Regions from separate parts of the Homo sapiens genome. Here regions 2, 3 and 4 are each linked to region 1. The links are contacts of gene promoters, found by promoter capture Hi-C in blood cells and fetal thymus (Javierre and others, 2016). All regions are on one chromosome and are shown on one strand. Each heading gives the region's core, a stretch centred on a gene start or on the middle of the fragment in contact. The rest is flanking DNA. Distances are from core to core; before and after follow the strand shown. Region 1 holds the start of OR6B2 (olfactory receptor family 6 subfamily B member 2). Region 2 has its middle 60 kb from the start of LINC01940. Region 3 has its middle 65 kb from the start of MIR4440. Region 4 has its middle 48 kb from the start of MIR4440.

What was found. Contacts are between HindIII fragments. The CHiCAGO score rates a contact against its expected background, and 5 or more counts as called.
Region 2: a fragment that was not itself captured here is called in contact with the fragment with the promoter of OR6B2 in region 1 in 1 of 17 cell types (M0 macrophages); the score reaches 6.3 in M0 macrophages.
Region 3: a fragment that was not itself captured here is called in contact with the fragment with the promoter of OR6B2 in region 1 in 1 of 17 cell types (M0 macrophages); the score reaches 5.0 in M0 macrophages.
Region 4: a contact is called between a fragment that was not itself captured here and the fragment with the promoter of OR6B2 in region 1, in 2 of 17 cell types (M0 macrophages and M2 macrophages). The highest score is 6.1, in M0 macrophages.

What each region holds. Positions count from the first base shown.
Region 1 is chr2:240,028,604-240,031,920 of GRCh38, reverse strand. OR6B2 (olfactory receptor family 6 subfamily B member 2) reads left to right here and starts at 1,492. Exons shown (of 1, transcript NM_001005853.1): 1 at 1,492-2,430. The coding sequence starts at 1,492. The coding sequence ends at 2,430. The HindIII fragment of the contact is 5,761 bases long and covers 1-3,317 here.
Region 2 is chr2:238,984,579-238,987,895 of GRCh38, reverse strand. No RefSeq gene overlaps it. Among named protein-coding and RNA genes, the nearest start is that of LINC01940, 60 kb to the right of the region's middle. RefSeq lists enhancers at 953-1,933, 1,934-2,916. The HindIII fragment of the contact is 2,614 bases long and covers 258-2,871 here.
Region 3 is chr2:239,002,072-239,005,388 of GRCh38, reverse strand. No RefSeq gene overlaps it. Among named protein-coding and RNA genes, the nearest start is that of MIR4440, 65 kb to the left of the region's middle. The HindIII fragment of the contact is 850 bases long and covers 1,427-2,276 here.
Region 4 is chr2:239,019,174-239,022,490 of GRCh38, reverse strand. No RefSeq gene overlaps it. Among named protein-coding and RNA genes, the nearest start is that of MIR4440, 48 kb to the left of the region's middle. The HindIII fragment of the contact is 1,972 bases long and covers 698-2,669 here.

The DNA of each region.
Region 1 (3,317 bases), core at 243-2,742:
GGATGGATAGAGTGTGCTGTAAAGGGCCCTGAATTTGTAAAGTAACACAGTTTCAATTTAATGAATCAATCCGGTATTAACTAGCCAACTCACTAATGATCAGTTACCACTATCCAAATAATCAAGAGAAATCTATAGGTGCCTCTACTGTTCTGGGTTAAAAGCACAAGAACCAAAGCTCACTACCCCCACCGCCAGCTCTCCCCAGCAAACCCAGTCAACAGGTGGGGGCTGCTGGCCTTCCAAGGAGCTCCTGTGGACCCCAACTTTCCTCCTTGTGGACTTTAAAGCCCCCTGTGGCCACTCAGCTGGGAAGAGGACACAGTCACCACCCTGGATGGTGTCTAGAGAGGCTACATTCAGACTCACATCTTGAGACCCCTTTAATGGCAGGGGTTCTTATTGCTTTTGTTTTGGGGAGACAGTAGGCGGTGACTGGAGTGAGTAGTAAATGCTTGTGAAATTGATCCTAAACTCTGAACTGCACGCTGGCATTTTAAGGCAGGGAATGGCCATGCCGCCCCAGTGGATGATCTTGGGTTCCCACAGAATGCTCACCCTAGACGGCAGGAGTACAGGTGCGTTTCCAAGTGTAAACCTGTCCCTGGGCAATTCCCTTCTAGAAGTTTGTTTTTCAGCCTGCAACTCTTCCATGAACTCGACTTGTCTAGCCAACCCCCTACACGTCACCATGAGGCTCTCCAGTAAGTGCCGCGCACCACGCCTCCCCAGCACAGACTCCAGATTATTCGGCACCCACCTGGCCCTCTCCTAGTCTTCTCATCAATTTTTAGCATCCTGGGCCAGAAACCTGGGGTCACCCTCCCCAGCTGTGAGCTGGTGGAAGTCTGCCATTCAACCCACCTAGACTGCCAATGAAAAGAACCACCAGATGCCCTGTGGGGCAAGGGGCTGTGGCTACCCTCTCTCTCCCCCACCTGTGGACCAGGTCCCCCAGAGCCAGGCAGCCCTTTCCTGGGAGCCCTCCCTGCATTCCTCCGGCTGGTTAGCCCAGTTTGGGGTTCTGCCCTGGTAGGCTGATAGCCCCTCACCTCATGCCGAGGCTGCTGCCCCGACTTGCAGGAACCCTCAGATGAAGGACCCTAAGGAGGGCCAGCTCTGTGTCCATGCCCACTTGGATCTTGAGAGCTGCCCCAGGCACGTGTGGACTGGTAGTGCCCCTGGACTCAGAGCTTTGGGTTTTGCCCACCCTGGAGCTGCCCGGCTCTGTTCCTCAGCATATACTCTCTTCCTCATTCCTACTTCATGGTTATATGTAAATGCAAGCACACAGAAGTTTTCTACTTTAAAACTCAGAAGATCAGCAGATCACTGCTCTCTCCTGGTGCTCTGGGGAGCCACGTGGCCTCTCTTTGCACCAAAACTCCCCATCCAAGTCCAGCTCCACTCTCTCTCTGCCTCAGCTGCCCTGCAGCCCTTTCCTCTTGCTCTTTGATGTTTTGTAGGCCTGCAGCTCCCAAGCACAGAGGCATGAGTGGGGAGAATGTCACCAAGGTCAGCACCTTCATCCTGGTGGGCCTCCCCACGGCCCCAGGGCTGCAGTACCTGCTCTTCCTCCTCTTCCTGCTCACCTACCTCTTTGTCCTGGTGGAGAACCTGGCCATCATCCTCATCGTCTGGAGCAGCACCTCCCTCCACAGGCCCATGTACTACTTTCTGAGCTCCATGTCTTTCCTGGAGATCTGGTACGTGTCTGACATCACCCCCAAGATGCTGGAGGGCTTCCTCCTCCAGCAGAAACGCATCTCTTTCGTCGGGTGCATGACGCAGCTCTACTTCTTCAGCTCCCTGGTGTGCACCGAGTGTGTGCTTCTGGCCTCCATGGCCTACGACCGCTACGTGGCCATCTGCCACCCGCTGCGCTACCACGTCCTTGTGACCCCGGGGCTGTGCCTCCAGCTGGTGGGCTTCTCCTTTGTGAGTGGCTTCACCATCTCCATGATCAAGGTCTGTTTTATCTCCAGCGTCACGTTCTGTGGCTCCAACGTCTTGAACCACTTCTTCTGTGACATTTCCCCCATCCTCAAGCTGGCCTGCACGGACTTCTCCACTGCAGAGCTGGTGGATTTCATCCTGGCCTTCATCATCCTGGTGTTTCCGCTCCTGGCCACCATACTGTCATATTGGCACATCACCCTGGCTGTCCTGCGCATCCCCTCGGCCACCGGCTGCTGGAGAGCCTTCTCTACCTGCGCCTCTCACCTCACCGTGGTCACCGTCTTCTATACAGCCTTGCTTTTCATGTATGTCCGGCCCCAAGCCATTGATTCCCAGAGCTCCAACAAGCTCATCTCTGCCGTGTACACTGTTGTCACGCCAATAATTAACCCTTTGATTTACTGCCTGAGGAACAAGGAATTTAAGGACGCCTTGAAAAAGGCCTTGGGCTTGGGTCAAACTTCACACTAAGACAACTAAATGTCCTAGAGTAAAATCTGTAGTGATGAAACAACATTGTATGTGGCACTTTGTGCTCTTTAAATTAATTTTTAAGTTAAATTTAACAAACCTACAGAACTAAGTGAAATTTAACAAACCTACACAACTGTGCACAAGTAACAAGCCTTCGTCTGCATATGTTTTCACAAAAGGACTGTGCTCATGGAACCAGCTCCCAGATCAAGAACTAGAAGCTGCCTTCACGCCCTCTCCCAGTCATTAACCCTTCTCCACAAAAAGCACTGTCCTGACTTCCAAAACCAGATGCTAGCATTGGTGTTTCTGAGGGGCTTACACATAAAGTATGTGCCCTGTTATGTTCAGCTTCTTTCATTCACCGTGTTGCTTGAGTGAATCCTTGATGTTTTTGCATGTAACAATAATTCATGCATTCTCATTGCTATCCAATATTCATAATAAATAATACATTTATACTGTATAATACACAATGCATAATACATTCATACTGGGATAATACATATACTGGGATAATGCATATACTGTATTGTGTATTATATATACATAATACATTATGCTGGGTGAAACCCTGTCCCACCTGTCCCAGCAGGTGTGAGCCACTGTGCTCATCCATAATTTATGCATCTAAACACAGATAAGGTAAGTCAAAATATAATGTCATAATCTTATGGGACCACCATCTTATGTGCCGTTCAGTTCATCATTCACCAAATGTCATTGTGTGGTGCACTACTGCGTCAGTTGAGAATATTTGTGCTGGCTTATTTCTGGATCCTCTGTTCTGTTAAATTGATCTACGTATCTATCAATATCACACCCTCCATCCATACAACACAGTCTTGATTTATATGATTATGTAGTAAATCTTAACACTGGAA
Region 2 (3,317 bases), core at 315-2,814, 1.0 Mb after region 1:
CTCTGCAACTCCTCAAGCCTGACTTAGAGCATCCTCAAGTCACAAGAGAGAAACAAAGGACGGAAAGACGCAAAGGACGCTTGCTGGCTTTCTCTTTTAAACGCCTGGCTGACCACATCCCCGACTCTGGGCTGAGCCAGGGCCCGAGGCTGGCCCCAGGCGCTGCCCGGAGCGGGAGGCAGAGCTTACGCCTTGCATCTTGCCTGATGACAGACCTCAGACAATTTCTGGGGCAGAGGAAAAGAGCATAATAAGCTTAATTTCAGCATTGTAAAGGTTATTATTATAATCATTTCCCTCTGAAGAATTGTAAATAATTCATTTGCAAAACTCTAGTTGAAGTCTCTAATTAGATTCTCCTTGGGCTCTTACAAAGCTCCTTCCGCCTCCAGTTGCGAAATCCATCTAGTTTGTTTTTTGTTTTGTTTTGTTTTGACCGTCTCTCCATTCAGCATGCTAAGAAATCAGCCTCATATTGTTTTCTTGTGTTCTCAAATTATGTTTCAATGGTGTGTCCTGCCTGTCCCCTCACCAGGGATGCTTGCGGGAGGGGAGGATGCAAGGGGGTGAGAAGGGCATTCTTGTTAGGCCACATTTATGCTCCTCTCTCGGGGTCGTGAGGCGTCCCGGGAGTCAGATGCTCTGGTCCCTGCCTGCCCTCTGATCTCCACGCCTGAACCCGGCAGAAGAGGGAGGGTCTCCTCAGGAGCGGGACAGAGCCTTCCACAGTGACCCCAGGCTTTACCGGCTCTAAAATCCAGGGCTGTCTCTACTGGGGCTAACGCAGTAGGCGCGGGTCTCTGATGCATCAGAAAATGTCCCTGCCTCTGTCTTCCTCGTCCTCCAGATCCTTCTCCTGAGGCCACAAGTGAGCGTCCCCAGGTGCACTTAGAGAACTGCGGCAGGTGCCAGTGCAGACGGCAGGTGACGCTGCCAGAGGAAGGAGAGAGGGTTTCTCAGGGCGGCGTCCACCTCAAGGGTGGAGGGTCTGGGGGTGTGCAGGGCGTGGACTGGGGAGTGTCAGACTGGCCCTGTTTCCACCTGAAGAGGACAAATGTGGCTGCGCGTCGGCACAGGTGTCCAGGAGGGGCTCTTGGAGGGGTCTCTAGGGAACACTGACCCGGACTGTGTGTCCTGGAGCTCTGCGGTCGCCCCATGCGCCTGCTCCCTGGGCCTGCCTGAACCCGCGCCCCGCCGAGCCCCCAGACCCTGCCTGAGCCGACCCGCCCTGAGCTTGGAGCCCTCCGCGCAAGGAGACAGCCCCAGGGGAGCGAGAGCGAGCCTTGCTTCCCAAATGGCCGGGGATAGTTTTGAATTTAGGGGTGGGTGTGTGTGCCAGGAAGAAGGTAACTTGAGCACGTCCTGGGTCACCGAGAGGGTCCCTGCATTTGGACCTTGGGGCCGTTGGTTGCGCAGGGCAGGTGAGGCCAGGGGCTTAGACCAGGGCCTGGATCCCAGCGAGCCAGGGAAGAGCAGGGCGGCCCCGCGCAGAGGCTGAGGCGCCTGCCCTGGGGCTGGGACCCTGCACGCATCTCCCACCACCTGAGGCAGGGGTCCCACCATTCTGTGGGCGAGCCTGGGTTTTAGCCAGCCGACCCCTCCCCCGCACGTCCCCTCCTTGCTGTGGATCTGAGAGGATGCGCCGGCGCAGGGATGAGAAAGAGGCAGCCCGCGTGGAGAGGCAGCGGGGCCGGACTGCAGGGAGTGGACTCCTCTTGGAGGAAGAAGGCGGCAGCGAGGACATCGCTACTGCCTTTGTTCCCACTGGGAAGGGGCGGGCCGGGAGCTGAACCAAGGTTAGAGGGCGATGGAGAGGGGAGCGAGGGCCCCAGTGTGCCAGGCCCAAGCCTCCCAGGAGAGCTGTCCGGCGGCCCCGACAGGCTGGAGTGCAGCCTTCCCTCCGCAGGCCTAGGGCTGCGCTGCTGGAAGCCCCGGGGCTCTGCCAGCCAGGGTGTAGCCTGGCTCACTGCAGCACCACGAGCCGAGGGACCCTTCCTGGTACAGGTTTTGTCTCGGAGCTTTCTTGGGAGGGAGGGAGTCGTTCCCCGGTGTGACGCAGGTGACCTTGGTGGATCCTCCCGAAGGCCACGTGAGCACCGCTGCAGGAGCTCTGTAGGGACGGGTTGAATGGCTGTGGCAGCGGAGAGGTTAAATTAGGAGATTCATATTGACCCCCCTAAAAAGTACTGTCCCTTGAACGGTCGCTCAGTAGAACAGGGTCTTCTTGGCTCTGCAGCAGCCCCGTGGAGCCTGGGATGAGCGGTCCTGAAGTTTGAGCAATTGCAAGGGCGAGGTCAGGGGGCGCTGGGGACCCTGCCTCCCAGCAGGAGGGGAAAGACCCTCCCTGAGGGGCCCGCGCGGGCTTTGATTGTGTGCCCAGACTGAACACGTCCATCCTGGGTAACCTCTGGGGTAAATACTCAAACTCCCTGGGCCCCAGCTCTATGGTGGGGCCTCCCGCTGAGCGCCAGGGGCCGGCAGCCCCCATCCCCACATTCCTGTTCGGTTTTTGTGTTGCGCCCCTGACATTTGTGTCTCTCCCGAGGCCCACCTCGCCTGTTTTTACGAGATGGCTGGACGTGGGAAGGCCCACGCTTGGACGCTGGCTTTGTCCTTTCTGGTATGAAGATAGCTGGCTTGCGAGTTAGTAAACTCATAAACTTGGTCTTATAAACACTCATCATTCCAAATGTGACATCACCTCTATGTACATACATCTTCTTAAACCCAAATATGCAAAAATACCTCCCAAGCAGCTGCCACATTGCAGAGAATTTAATTAAAGGAAAGGCCCCTTTTGGAAATGTGTTTATTTTACCATAAAAAGGGATGGAGTTGCCCTTTCTGGAAGTTTTTCTCTCTAATTAAGCTTAGCCCTGATTACCGCTCTGGAGGTGGCACCCGTAGGAGTCCTGGAGGGAATGTCTCTGGGCTGATAAAACCCAGGACAGTTCAATGAAAGCCAACACAAACGGACTCAAAAGCTGTGTGATTTTTACAAAGGAGGAGAAGATGAAAGCCCTTTGGTACAAAACAAAATATGTATTTTTAAAAATTATGGTTAAGCACATGCTCATTGACCTGGATTCTGCCAGCGTCATGCATGGTTCCGTACTTCTGTAGGAAAAGCAGCTCCCCACCAACCACAAAAATGACTGTGTCTCACTATAGATGCACATGTTGAAGCTTTCTTCAGTCAAGTCAGAGACCTTGAATGCTTATTTTTTCTCAAATTTTGATATATGTTATTTGACAATAATTTATTTCTAAACAAAAATATTTCCTCTTCAAATCATTCAGACCCTTTCTTGGAAAAC
Region 3 (3,317 bases), core at 602-3,101, 1.0 Mb after region 1:
GGGCGTGGTGGCTCACGCCTGTAATCCCAGCACTTTGCGAGGGTAAGGCAGGTGGATCACTTGAGGTCAGGAATTCGAGACCAGCCTGGCCAGGTGCAGTGGCTCACACCTGTAATCCCAGCACTTTGCGAGGCCTAGGCAGGCGGATCACTTGAGGTCAGGAGTTCGAGACCAGCCTGGCCAACATGGTGAAACCCTATCTCTACTAAAAATAAAAAATTAGCCGAGCATAGTGACAGGCACCTGTAATCCCAGCTACTCGGGGGGCCAAGGCAGGAGAATCGCTTGAACCTGGGAGGCAGAGGTTGCAGTGAGCCCAGATCGTGCCACTGCACTCCAGCCTGGGCGACAGAGCAAGACTCTATCTCTAAATAAAGAAAGAAAGAAATAAGAAAAGAGATCTGACTCCTCTTGCAGGGCTGCCTCTGGAAATACCGAAAATAAGATTAATCTCTTTTCCAAATGAGAAGCTTTCAACTTACCACGGCCCTGGACGTCTCCTCTTTCCCAGGCTAACTATCTTTGCATCCTACAGCCATTTCTCTTGTAAGCTTCACTGGCAGGCCCCCAGTCCTCTGGTGCAGCAGCCTGGGAAGGGCAGCTTCCTCTCGGCCGGCCCGGATTCCAGAGAGAAGGGAGACGATGGAGACGGGAATATGTGTGCTGTGTTCTTCAGAGGGATTCCACATTCAGGACCCCGCTTCCTAACCATAGCCTGGAGATTTCTGAGGAGGCTTCGAAATGATTTAGTTTAACCTCCTGAATTAGTTTCCTAGGGGTGTCATAAAAAATGACCCCAAACTGGGTGGCTTCAAACAACAGAAATGTGTCCTCCCACAGTTCTGGAGGCCGGAAGTCCTACATCACGGCGGCAGGGCTGGTTTCTTCTGCGGCTGTGAGTGGGAATCTCTCCGGGGCTCTCTGCAGCTCCTGGCAGGTGCGGGGAAGCCTGGCTGCTGGATGCATCACTCTAACCTCTGCCTCTGTCTCCACGTGGCCTCCTTCCCCGTGGCTCTGTGTCTTCTCCCCTTCTCTTCTCTTCTAAGGACTCCTGGCATTGGGTTTAGGGCTTACCCTAAACCAGAATGATCTTATCTCGAGATTCTTATCTTAATGACATGGCCCTTGGGCCAACTAGGGGCACACTCTGATGTTCCTGTTGGACATATCTTTTGGAGGTGGCGCCATTTAACCCAGCAGAACTCTTACTTTACAGATAAATGCCATGGGGGGCAAAAGGGGAGTGGCGTGCCCAGGAGTCCCTGCAGAGTTCGCGAGGAACCTGAGCCTCAACAGCCCTGGTCGGCCCTCCCCGCCCTCTCACATGGAGAACACAGAGACACAACCAGGACAGACGATGGTACGCACGGACCCGGCATTGCTGCAAAATGCGAGGCTTCCATGAAGTTCTCAAGTAATTGAAGCTTACCTCTTTAAGGGACAAAATTATGTTCAAAATGCTCTTTTGATAGTAAGCGTTCTAAACCACAGAAACATACTCTCCCAACGTGCTTAAGAGAATACAAGTTTGAAACAGTCCGTCGGCATTTTGTCGGTAACTCAGGGTGGTTGCCGAGGGGCCATTCCGAGCCGGGGCTGGGCTGTGATCCTTCCAGTTCTGCTCGACTGGCTGGGCCGTGGCCCCTGCCTCAGTTGCCCCCACATCGCCGGCTTCTGGACGTGGTGACTGCCAGCTGTTTCCCCCAAGAATTGGCCCTTCTCAGAATGGCAGCCCATTCATTCGCCAGCTCTTAATGGGATGTGTGATGGAATACACTTTGAGGGGGTGGGTGGAGATATTAATCTTTGTTTTGCTTTCTTATTTCTCCCCCTCATCCAATTTCAAGCAGATCACCCGGCTCTTTGTAATTTTTTTGCCTCGGGGATTTTTTTTCCAGGCAGAACGCCAAAGCAGCTCAAAGCCAAAGGCTCTTTCTGTCTTTTGTAAAAACCTAAACCCATTTCATAAAAACCCAAACCCAGGAGGCGAGTGGGAGGGAGAGGGCAAGATTCACTGAGGCTGGGAAAAGGAGGAGGCTGGTGTCCCCAAGGACCTGAGGTCTGAGCACAGCTCCAAGGCACAGCCTGGGAGGGTGGAGCGCACACGGCTGCCCATGTTGTGCCCTGAGGCTCTCATCCCCGGCAAGGATCCCCAGGCATCGGGCAGGGTGGAGGAACAGCCATCAGCCTGAGGGCAGCGGGACTTGCGTGCGAGTGGCACTGAGGCAGTGGTGACAGCTCCCAGCCCTTCAGCTCTTCTGGGCACCATGGAAGCTTCTGGATCCTGGAGGGACTCTAGGAGGGGAGAGAGTTGCATTTTCTGCCAGCCCCACAGGGTGGGGCTCCAAGTTGGGTTTAAGTTGATTTATGTAAACAAAGAAATGAAACTTCCGGATTTCTGGACAGCACGGCCCTACAAGTTCATGCACTGAGGCCTCTTCTCTGCTCCGAATACGCAGCAGCATTAGAGAAAACATATTTCAACAAAACAAGCCAAGCATCACAGACACCAAAAACAGACAGAACAAAACCCGTGGGTGGGGTCTGAGATGGGGCTTCCGGTCCGGAACCAATGTCGGGGAAGTGCTGGCACCTGGTGCAGCCCCCACGGTTGGGAGCAGAGGCCAGCTGACTGCACAGAGAGACCCCCACCCCAGAGAGGGAACAGAAAGAAAATTCCAGCTGAGTGCTTCTCGGGCTTTAGCTTCCACAGATTCAAGGACCAGGAGGTGAGAGGAAGCAGCCTCCTGTCCAGGACCCAGGTAAGGCACCACCAATGCCATTACTCTATTTGTGATTTAGCCGATGCTCTGTGGGACATGAAACCTGGTTCACGGAGGGCATCCCTGGAGGCTGGGCGAAGACCGATGCAAACCCTCAGGGCAGACAGGGTTGAGTGTATGTGAGAGGCGTGGACAGGGAGAGAAGGAGGAGTGTGGAGAGGGACACGGGGGAGAACCACAGCAACAGGAAAATGACCTTAAAGTAAGTTTTTTAGCATCTTAAAGAGGAAAGACAAGAAATAGCCTAAAAAGAGTAATTGGCTATACACAAAACTTGGCAGAAATGAAAAGGATCAGAACTGATGGAAATGGAAAATATCTAATTAGTAAACCTGAAAATTAAAAAGATGCTCATTGAAATAAAAAGGAAACCAGCAAATGCAATAAAATCCTCAGCAAATTCAGGCAAACAGATCTCGGGTGAAACGGAAGACGGACGTAAGGAATTCTCCAAGAACGCATCACACAGCAACTGAGATTTCAAAAGAAAATCACCACAAAAGAGCAGGCAAGAGACTGGCAGAGTTGGCCGGG
Region 4 (3,317 bases), core at 434-2,933, 1.0 Mb after region 1:
ACAGCACAGCCTGGTGCACTGCGGGGTACAATAGCCATTGACTTGTCGTCTTCTGAGTCCCTGAAATAGTAACATTTTTGTAATCCAAGTTTCCAGTGTGTCTTTATAAATAATGATGGCAAAAACTAAGAGAAAGGCATTGTGTAATTTGAATCAGTGCCTACAGGGCTAAGTCTCCTAGAGGCCGGATCAGTGAGAGATGATCTGGACAAGCCTTTTGCTGTGACGCTCATCCAAGAGAGCTGTCCTGTGGGAGGACAAGCAGAGCGAGGGCAGCGAATATGATTATTACTGGATTTGATATTGGTGTTTCTTACAATATTTTCAGACATGTGCTTCTCAAACTTTCTGTGATGAAGAACCAGCTTTTTAAAATGTCCAATCCACTGTGGACTGATATTTTCATAAAATACAGGCAAAAATGCCCTGGCCGCATCAAGGGACAGCAAAGTATCTACATGCTTGCTCTCAGTTTCTGCCCAGACTCAAGGGGTAGTTCCAACAGCCATGGCCCTGCAGTGCTTGTGTGGTGTGTTCTTGACCCGGATAAGCTGCAGTGGGGCTCGTGGCTGGCGGACCATCCTCCCTACTCCCCGCCCAGCCGCTGAAGGCCACAGGGTCACTGCTCAGAAGTGGATGTGGCTGTCCAGTCTTCACCGACCCTTCCCGCTGGTGGATGCCTGGACACCCTTAAGCTTCCCGACACTTGGGTCATTTTGTGGTGATGTCATTGGCCACAACATGTGAAATCGAGCAGGTGGCACCAACTCTGACCACGCATCGGCCAACGTCAGCGAGGAAGCATGGCTTGAGCTGTAAATGGTAGCATTTCAGCCATTTCTTCTTCCCAAGTTTGACTGCTTCTCACCTTTGTGATGCACACACACAAAGGTAGAAACATTAGAGAGAGAGAGAACAAAGGGACAGCAGGAACGCCCTCCAGGACTCTGGGCGTGTCCCTGAGGAAAGACCTCTGCAAGCAGCCAGTTTCACCATTTGGGTTTCCGTCTGAGGGGATGTTTACAAACACTGAGCATCCCCAGTCCTTGAATTGAACTCGGCACCAGAGAGGCTTGCGGTGGGAGATGGAAGCCAAGACAGCCCCTGGGTCCTGAGCAATCCCCCGACCCCCAGCCCCAGACTTTATGGCACTACTGGCTAACAAGATAGACACTATGAGTGAAATTGAGGTGGAAAAAAAAATAAGAGGAAAAGAAATCAAGATGAAGCCAAGAATCAAAAGAGAACCACAAATGCACACCAAGTGATCCTGTATAGCTGCTAGGGGTGAGTTGCAAATTAGGCTCTGAGCTTCCTAGCAGTCATAGCAAAGCAGAAACCAGCCTGACCTTAAGATAACAACAGATATTTTTGCCCCACTTCCCTAGAAGCCTTCACAGAGGGAAAAACCTGGGTGCTGTGGGTTCTGCCTTGGGAGCATCATCCCTCCTAGACAATCCCAGAGGCCCACCACAAGCAGGAGCTGTCACTTCTGTGATGCGGAGGCCTGGCATATGGGGGGTCAGAGCCGTCATGGGTGAGTTGCTTGGTTGGTGAGTGGCCGAGCAGGCTCCCAACACCCGCTGGTCACTGTCACTGCCCAGTGGTTTTCTGCACCTCTGTCTTCACAAGCAGCTCTGTGGACTGGATAGGAAATGCACCTCTGACTGGTGCAGCTTTCTGAGGTCGGGAACAGCCTGCCCCAGAGGGAGGCAGGAGGGGGACGGTCTCCAGGAGGCTGCTCTGGGGGCCCGGATTTTCCTTTTGTTTGGTGGCCATCAGGTCCCTGGGGCTCCGCTCCCCTTCACCTCCAGCTTCAGTCCCTTCCTCGGGCACCAACTGGCCTCCCCGACGCGCCCTGCCTTAGAGCCTTGTTCTAGTCCGTGGGGGTTGCCGGCCAGTGACCGCCGCCTCCCACTCTCAGTGTGGCCTCGGAGCCTGAGTTTCCCAGGGCTCTTCTGTCTCACGTGGAGACTGCCCTCCTTGCACCCACAGCTGTTCAACCATGATGCGGTGCTTCCAAGCTGATCACTTCCACTCTCGTTTCTAGAAATTCCTCATTGTCCTTGAGATGGGGAGAGCCTGATCTGTTTTTCCAGCACAGTCAGGGACTAGTTCTTATGTTTCTTCTTCTTCTTCTTCTGTCATTTCACTGGGGCTCAGGGAGGAAGGACATAAACTTGGCTAACATTTTGAAGGGATGTCCCTGTTTTTGCCCTTGAGGGCTCAAAGGATGCTCTCTTCCTGAGTTTCCCCCACAGCAGGGCCTTCACACTGAGGCTGTACAGTGAAAATACAAGACTCCTAACTCTTTAAGCAAGCAAGAAAAAAACCCAAACTTCCCACCCTATTAAGGTGTTCCAATCTTATCTCACGAATGGGAGATTTTTTTGAGGCAGAAGGACCAGAGAAAGTGTCTGGTCCAAGCCTAGAACATTTTAGGAAGGAAGATGGAGGGCATGGCAATTTCTACACTTAGAAAAGTATTAGAGATCATTAAGGAGGTGCACCATGCTTCACAAGGATATTGATGGACTCTGTGTTTCTAATAGTTAAAGAATGGAGGCAGGTTAAATGCCCTCCAAAAAGGTCAGTTTATACAGTAAGAATGGCTCAACTAGGCAGGACTGAAAGGTTAGTGATTTGTGTATTGACTACGTCTGAAAGCTTAATCAACAAAATGTTACCAGCACTTAGCTCTGTGTGGTGAGATGAAAATTATACTTAAATTTTTTTTTGCTTATTTAAAATTGTGCTCCTTAAGTTTTCAACAAAAAATGCATATTGTTTTTTAATAAGAAAAAAGGTTACGAATTTAAATATAACAACCGGTGTTAAGACAAGGTGATGGCGGGGCCGAGGCTAGACCAACTGCATGTGCAAAATCCACAGCAGCGCATGACTGGGGCTGATCATCTGTGTCTCCAAGTGGCTTTGCGGGGAACCCTCAGGGACTTTCCCAGAAAGTTTCCCACCAGGTGATGGTGCTTTCGAGTGCTGGGTGCTCAGCAACTGCTGTGAAGGCACAGAGGCAGTGCCTGCCTGCAGGATGCTTCCAGTCCAGTGAGGGACAGACAGGAGGGCCCAACCTGGAGCAAAGTTTAGGGTGGCCACCCTGTAGGAGACAGGCAGGCAGGGGCCACGGGCACTCCCAGGTGGAGACCAGTTGCCTGGAAAGGTCAGGGCCACGTTGGTCTCCAGGCCGAGCACCCAGGCTGAGCAGAAGGTGCTCTGGCCGGGTTTACCACCTCACTTACCAACAGGCCCCCACCCCTCCCTGCCCCCACATGGGTGTCTGCCCAGGTGCAGTGTGCACA